Linked DNA regions of Homo sapiens: region 1 is linked to region 2. The links are contacts of gene promoters, found by promoter capture Hi-C in human tissues and cell types (Jung and others, 2019). All regions are on one chromosome and are shown on one strand. The core of a region is centred on a gene start or on the middle of the fragment in contact, and the rest is flanking DNA. Distances in the headings are between cores, read along the strand shown.

Evidence for each region. The method cuts DNA at HindIII sites, captures the fragments that hold promoters and counts their contacts. A contact is called where the count stands out against the background at its distance.
Region 1: a fragment that was not itself captured here is called in contact with the fragment with the promoter of LONRF3 in region 2 in 2 of the 25 tissues and cell types used here (aorta and ovary).

Annotation. Positions count from the first base shown.
Region 1 is chrX:118,930,304-118,934,513 of GRCh38, reverse strand. No RefSeq gene overlaps it. Among named protein-coding and RNA genes, the nearest start is that of LONRF3, 42 kb to the left of the region's middle. The HindIII fragment of the contact is 7,100 bases long and covers 1-4,210 here.
Region 2 is chrX:118,971,671-118,975,886 of GRCh38, reverse strand. It overlaps LONRF3 (LON peptidase N-terminal domain and ring finger 3), which reads right to left and starts at 1,269. Exons shown (of 11, transcript NM_001031855.3): 1 at 290-1,269. The coding sequence starts at 1,106. The HindIII fragment of the contact is 6,747 bases long and covers 1-4,216 here.

The DNA of each region.
Region 1 (4,210 bases), core at 739-3,238, 42 kb after region 2:
AAAGGTTTAAAAAGTCATCACCAACAGACCTGAATTGTAGTAAATGCTGAAAGACATCCTTTTTTTTTTTTTTTTTTTGAGATGGAGTTTCACTCTTGTTGCCCAGGCTGGAATGCAATGGTGCAATGTCAGCTTGCTGCAACCTTTGCTTCCTGGGTTCAAGCAATTCTCCTGCCTCAGCCTCCCAAGTAGCTGGGATTACAGGCAACTGCCACCACGCCCAGCTAATTTTTTTATTTTTAGTAGAGACGGGGTTTCACCATGTAGGCCAGGCTGGTCTTGAACTCCTGACCTCAGGTGATCCACCCACGTGGGCCTCCCAAAGTGCTGGGATTACAGGCATGAGCCACCATGCCTGGCCTGAAAGACCAGGAAGAAGAGCAGCAGAAGAAATGACCCCAGATGAAAATATGGATCTATAGTAAAGCAATAAAGAACACTGGAAACAGAAACTTCATGAATAAATATATATGATATTTTTCTTATTTCATAAATATCTTTAAAAGATAATTGACTAAGCAAAAATAGTAACAATGCATTGTGGGCTTTATAATTTATGTGTAAGTAAAATATATGCAAACAACAGCATAAAGGCCAGGAGAGAGGAAATGTAGGTATACTATTGGAAGGCTCTTCTTATATTATTTGTGAAATGATATAATATAACTCAAAGGGAGACTACAATAATATATGTGTGTGTGTGTGTGTGTGTGTGTGTGTGTGTGTGTGTTTGTGTAGCTTGAACCCAGGAGGTTGAGGCTACAGTGAGCCATGATCAGGCCACTGCACTACAACCTGAGGGACAGAACAAGACCCTGTCTCAAAAAAAAGAAAAAGACCATCAGACTGGATAATAAAAAAGCAAAAAAGCAAGACCTAAGTGTATGCTGTTCACAACAAACACACTTTAAATACACAAACCAGTGAAAAATAAAGTGATGGAGAAAGATATACCATGTGTAGTGGACTCAGTGGTGGCCCCAAAGATATGTCTATGTTCTAATCCCCAGAACCTGTAAATATTACCTTACGTGGCAAAATATGTGATTAACTTAAGGCTTTTGCGAGGAGCTTGTCCAGGTAGGCCCTAAATGCAATCACATGTATCCTTATAGGAGAGAAAGAGAGCTAATTTAGCTACACTAACACAGAGGAGAAGGCAATATGAACACGGAGCAGAGAAAGAGATAGAGCTGTAGCCACAAGCCAGCGAATACTGACAGACAGCAGAAACTGGAAGAGGCAAAGAATATATTCTCCCTCAGACTCTATGATGGAAGTGTGGTCTTACCTATACCTTGATTTCAGACTTCTCACCTCCGGAACCGTGGGAGAATAAATGTTTTTTAAGCCATCAACATTTCAGTAATTTGTTATAGTAGCCATGAGAAACTAATAGATCTAGTTAATTAATGCTAACACCAGATGCAGGAAAGACAGATGGCTATATTAGTGACAAACAAGTAGATTTCAAAGCAGCAAATATCACGGTAGGATGATAATAATAAAGGGGTCAATTCATCAATAGTACATAACTGTCCTAAATGTTTGTGTACTTGACAAATCTTCAAAATACACAAAGCAAAACGTGTATTCAAGTCATACAAAGTATGTATTCTGATTTCAATGGAATTAAATAATATTCTAAAAACAGAAAGCTGGAAAATACTCAAATATGTGGAAGTTAAACGGCATACTTATAAGTAAAACATGAATTCAAGAAAAAATCAAAAGTGGAATTGGAAGGCATATTTAACTGAATGAAAATGGAAATACAATATATCAAAATATGAGATACCATAAAGCACTATATAGTGGAAAATTTATAGCACTATATTCATATGTAAGAAAAGAAAAAAGATTTCAGATCATTGACATCATTTCCACATTAATAAATTGAAAAAGTAGATCAAATTAAGCAAAAACTAAGAAGTAGAAATCAATAAAATAGAAAACAGAAAATCATTAGAGAAATTTAATGAAACCAAAAGCTGGTTCTCTTGGATAATAAGCAAAATTGATAAAACTCTGGCTATGTGGATCAGGACAAAGAGAAGACACAAATTACCAATGTCATAAATGAGATAAAAATATTAACACAGGGCTGGGCACGGTGGCTCATGCCTGTAATCCCAGCACTTTGGGAGGCCGAGGTGGGCGGATCACGAGGTCAGGAGATCGAGACCATCCTGGCCAACACGGTGAAACCCCGTCTCTACTAAAAATACAAAAAATTAGCCAGGCGTGCTGGTGGGCGCCTGTAGTCCCAGCTACTCGGGAGGCTGAGGCAGGAGAATGGCGTGAACCCAGGAGGCGGAGCTTGTAGTGAGCCGAGATTGCGCCACTGCACTCCAGCCTGGGCGACAGTGCAAGACTCCATCTCAAAAAAAAAAAAAAAAAAACTATTAACACAGATTCTACAAATACTAAATAGGTTAATAAGGGAATATTATAAACACATTTATAGCAATAAATTTGAGGACTTAGATGGGATGGGCTAATTGCTTGAAAGATATAAACTACTAAAGCTCATTAAAGGAGATTATATCTCTATCTAGCTATCTACCTATCTATCTATCTGTATGTATAGAGATACATACACACACATACAAACACACAAAAATGAATACCCCTAAACCTATCATAGAAATATAATTTGTAGTTAAAAAGCTTCTCACTAGTAAACTCCAGTTTAGTAACTCCAGACCTGGATGTTTACACTAGTTATCGCTACCAAAAACTTAAGGTTTGAAATAACATCAATTTTACCCAAACTCTTCCAGGAAATTGAAAGGAAGGAATATTTCCTAACTCATTCTATGAGGACAGCATTACCATGATACCGAAGCAAGACAGATAAAACTACAAACCAATATCCCCTAGTGAACATAGAAACAAAAAACTCTAAACAAAATATTAGCAAACTGAATCTAGCAATATAAGAATATAAAAAATATAATGGGTCCAAAAAAAAACAGTAGACAGAATAACTAAGACCTACTATTTGATAGCACAACAGGGTGACTATAGTCAATAATAACTGTACATTTTAAAATAACTTAAAGAGTGTAATTGAATTGTTTGCAACTCAATGGATAAATGCTTGAGGGGATGGATACCCCATTCTTCATGGTGTGCTTATTTCACATTGCATGACTATATCAAAACATCTCATGTACCTCATAAATACATACACCTACTATGTACCCACAAAAATTAAAAATTAAAAAAAAAATAATACATCATGTGTAAGTGTGGTTTATATCAGGAATGCAAGGTTGGTTTACATTTGAAAATCAATCAATATAATTGACCATGTTAATAAATTAACAAAGAAAAGCCATGGGCTCATCTCAATAGATGCAGAAAAATCATTTGACAAAACCAATATCTATGGCTGATAACAATTCTCAGCAATATAGGAGTAGAAGTAAAGATCCTCAACCTATTAAAGCACATCTATGAAAATCCTATACCTAACAAACTTAATGGTGAAAGACTGGGTGCCTTCCTTATAAAATCAGTAACAAGTCAGGGATGTTTGTTCTCACCTCTTATATTCAGCATTGCCTTAGTCTGTTTTGTGCCGTTATAACAGAATACCTGAGACTGGGTAATTTACAAAGAACAGAAATTAATTACTGATAATTCTGAAGGCTGTGAAGTCCAAGATCAAGTCACCAGCAGGTTAGAGCCTGACCTCTCTGCTGCCAAGATGATGCCTCAAACACTGCATCCTCTGGAGGAGAGGAACGCTGTGTCCTCATGTGGTAGAAGAGAGCAAACCCACTCCCACAAGTCCTTTTTTTATAATGGCATTAATCCATTTAGAGGGCAGAGCCCTCAAAACCTAAACATCTCCCAAAAGGCCCCACTTCCCAACACTGCTGCAACTAGGGATCAAGTTTCCAACACATGAATTTTGGGGGATGCATCCAGACCATAGCAAACATTGTACTGGAGGGTCTGGACAGAGAAATTAGAAAATAAAATGCAATAAAAGCTCACAAATGATAAAGGAAGAAGTATTCTCTTTACTTGGAGATAATTGCTCATATGCAGAAAACCAGTTACAATCTAAAAAAAGTTCTAGAACTGAAAGTGAGTTTAGCAAGGTTGCAGGCTACATCATTAATGTTTTTTTAAAATTTCATTTATATATATTAGTAATTGACAATTGAAATTGAAATTTTAAAATACCACTTAGTTC
Region 2 (4,216 bases), core at 20-2,519:
GGAACGGGGACTGAGAGACAGGAACACAAAAGCTAACAGAAGTAGCAGGAAAAGACAAAAAGCAACCGAGATCAACACAAACACAGTGAAACACAGATAAGCAGTGAAAACAGAACAAACTCAGAGACCCAGCCCCAGAATCACCCCTCCCCCACCCCGCCACAGTCCATGGGTCCCCCGCCCCCTCTTCTGCCCTGGTCCAAATCCCTTCTCGCTGCGGGGTTTGTTCTCCCGCTCCCTCATGTAGCCACCGAGCCCCAGCCCCGGCCCGGCAGCGCGTTGGACTCACCCAACTTAACTGCCTCGTTGTACTTGAGCAGTGCCGCCTCCACCTGGCGCTCGCGGTACAGTCGGTTGCCCTCGTGCCGGAGTTGCGACGCTCGCGCTGGGCCTGGAAACAACTTGCCGAGGAGGCCGCTGAGCACCACGTTGACTCGCAGCGGCGGCGGCGGCTGCTGCCCAGCCCGCCGGGCTCCACGCGCCCGCCCAGTGGCCACCATCAAGGCGGAGAGCTTGACCCCGCACAGCGCACAGCGCCGGTCGGCGGCCCGCCCACGTTCCAGGCACAGTTTACAAAAGGTGTGGCCACACGACAAGGACACGGGGTCTGATAGAAACCCATGACATTTCCGGCACTTAAAGCCGTCCCACACCTCGGTGGCCGCCGCAGCCGCGGCGGCCCCCGTCTCTTCCGCCGCCACGGTGCCGCTTGCAGTGCTACCCTCGTCCGGGGGCGCCGGCGCCAGCGCCTCGCCTTGCGGGACTTTCTCCGCCAGGCAGCGCACCAGCTGCTCCAGCTGCTCAGCCACCAGCTGCTGCCGCTCGGAGAGCTGTCTATACACCTCGAGGGCTTCACGGATTCGCCCCCGGGACGCCAAGGCGTCTGCCTGCGTGAGCAGGACTTTGCTCTCCGGCGTTGAGGTCCCCGGAGACTGCTCTTGCTCTGGCTCCCGCGTCGGTAGAGGTGCGGGGCCCTCTGCAGCCACCTTTGGGTGGGGGCCCATGTCTACTTGGGCCGCTGATGCCCCTCGCTCCGCCGACTCCAAGTTGTCGCTGCTGACCTCAGCGGGCAAGCTCAGCATCTGTTCGATCCGTACTGACTCCATGGGAAGAGGGACACGGGAGGAGACGAGGCGTCTAGGGACCGGGGACACGAAGCAAGGAGTGGCAGCTGGAGGAAATCGGGGCAGCCACCGCCGCCATGCCACCGAGCTCCTGACCCTGCCGCGCCTCCGGGAGCTCCATGCCGGCCGCCCCGCGCCGCCTAATAACTGTCTTGTCTCAGCAAAGTGTTATATAAAACGGTACCACGTGACGTGCCGCCACGCTGTTCATTGGCCGGCGGCGGGGAAATTGTTACAAAACCAGACAGTTTTGTAACAGTGTTGCTCTTGCTTCTTTGGGCTTCGCTTTTCTTGGCTTCTTTTTGAGGTTGTTTGTGTTTACACTTCGCCTTATTCCTCCTCACCACCTGGTTCTTTTTCGGAAGTGGGGTTGTGGGGTGGGGAGAAACTCAGTGTCTTCTCTTGGGCTTCTCAGTCTCCAAACCCCACTCCATCCCACCTCCAAACGGGCCAGCAAACAGGTCCCCTCTGCCAGCCGCTGACCAGCGGCCCCCCACTCCTCCCAGGAGAGGCTGGTACCTCGAGGTGCACAGTCCGCAGGGTCTTCCGGGACGCCTAAGACTCTCCCTCTTGGGGGAGATGGCTGCTGTCAGGGAAAGGAAGCAGGTTGGGAGGGGTATCCGTGAAGCCCCCCCACACACACACAACCCAGTCCCAGCCCGAGAGCCCTGGGAGCCCCGCCTGGGTTCCTTGCCTTCTCCCAGGAGCCTCCCAAAGGTGGTGAATTCGGTTTCTGAGGGTGCTTGGTGTTCTGTGCCAAGAGTGACTCAGAGCAGCGGGTCCCACCGGCGCAGAAGTTGGGCAGCGCTCGCTGGACAGTGAGGAACTCGCGGAGAAGATGCGCTTGCCGGCTCAGCCCTGGGAGGGAGATGCCCCGCTAACTCCCCTCTTTACCTCTCTACCCCCAACGCCAGAACTAGCGCTGGGGCAGGCGGTAGGCGCCCAGCTGGAGACACACCAGGCCGGCCCCTGGAGCCACTGGCCGGATGGGCGCGGCAGGGATGTACCCGGCCTGCTGGGGTCGGTGGGTACTCTGGGGGCGTGGGAGAGTGGCAGGGGGAAGACGCGAGCTGAGAGCGCTATTCAGGAGAAAGTCCGCGAATCCCGGCACAGCCCAGTGGCAGACCGAATAGCCTCCAGGTTTGTCGCTCCTGAGCGCTGCGCGGGAAGGGTACAACTGGGCACGAGCCTCAGCGCCTGGTTTACAATGGCTAGGGGGCCTCGACGGTGTCCTACACACTTCCTGAAGGCGAGCGGGGTGGCCAACTGCACACTCTTTGTCTGCCTTGAACCCCCACATTTAGGACGGGAACCAAGCTCACAAATGAGCAGACAGAAAACGGTATAGTCGCACTGCTCCAAGCAGGGAGGCAGGGACTAGGCTTGCCGCTGGCTCAGTTGGCCTTCAGAGCCTGCGGGCTCTTGGGCAGTGCCAGGTTGCCGCCCCAGGGGCCTGAAGACCTATTGTTGCCCCCTGCTGCAGCCACCTCTTAGCCAGATGACCTTGGGGAAGTCAAACTTTAGAATCCATCATTTTTGCTTCTGAACAAATGTTAGAGCTGATCTTACTTGGGATTAAGTCATGTTTCAGAGTTGGGTTATGGCAGGCCCCCTCGGGTCTCTGCTTCTCTTTAGGTAGTTAAACCAGTCTTAGATCAACACCAAGGTCCCAGAGAACAGGTACTATGCAGCCAGCTCTAGAGCCTCTTTCTAATAAGACAGGACAGAGGGAGAGGGTCACAGGGCAGAAAGGAAGCATCACATAGGGGAAAAAAGACACACACACGAAAAAAAAAAAAAATGAAGAAGAAGGAGAAGGAGAAGAAGAAATAGAGAAACTCCAGATGTAGTCAGGAAAGCACGAGGGACACATTGGAAAACTTGGCTTGAAGCCTTGGATTTGTCACATATTTGCTATGAAACCTTAGGTAGGTTCTCCAAACCTTAGTTTCTCTTAATCTCCAAGGTTCCCTCCAGCTCTAACCTTGAGTGGCTTTGATCCTAAGACCAAATTTCATGATACTAACTCAGTTACTTAAGTACAAATGACTAGTCCAAATGCTGTGGATGGTGGCTTGAACCGGGGTTGAGGGGATGGGAAATCAATGGAAGATTGTCCATTTAGTCGGGGTCAGACCTGAGCTAGATTTTTTTTTTTTTTTTGAGATGGAGTTTGGCTATTGTTGCCCAGGCTGGAGTGCAATGGAACGATCTCAGCTCACCACAACCTCCGCCTCCCAGGTTCAAGTGATTCTCCTGCCTCAGCCTCCCAAGTAGCTGGGATTACAGGCACGTGCCACCACAGCTGGCTAATTTTTTTGTATTTTTAGTAGAGACGGGGTTTCTCCATGTTGGTCAGGCTGGTCTCGAACTCCTGACCTCAGGTGATCCGCCCGCCTCAGCCTCCCAAAGTGCTGGAATTACAGGTGTGAGCCACCGCGCCTGGCCCCTGAGCTAGATTTTTAAGATGTAGAAGTCGGAGGACTGGCTAAGAGGTGGAGGAGGTGGCCATACCAAGCAGTAGGGGAGAAACTGGAGTTCCTGGTGAGTTGCTATCTAACTGAAGGGAGCTCTTTTCACCTCTCAGTTTCCCCTACTATCAAATGAGGTCCCCAGCACTAATTATCTGCCTGCCCCTTCAGGCATCTGTGAGGAAGGACAGTCGTTGGGGAAGGTAGAGATTCATGAGATAGATAATGATGAAACCATCTTAATTCAAGAGCTTTACCCCTTTGACATATCTAAAATATATATATATATGTCTGTTACCCAAAATTGTTTCCTAGATGCAAATCTGGGATGTGCTTTGCTCCGTGGATGACCTTGACAAGGGAATATCCCCTGGGTTGATTCCCCTCCCTTGCCCTGTTATGGTAGGAAGGCTAAGAGAGGGCCAGGTCAGGTAGAGAGTCACAGTCCTGCAGGCATGGAGAAGAGAAGCTCTCTCCAGGCAGGCCCTCTTGGCTGCCAGTGCAGGAGGTTGACCGTGAACTTGGTCAGGAATGTGAATAGCAGTCTGGATAATGCGAGGTACTCTGGTGTAAATGGCAGTACCAGCTACTCACTGACCAGACTCCACAGGGAGTTTTACA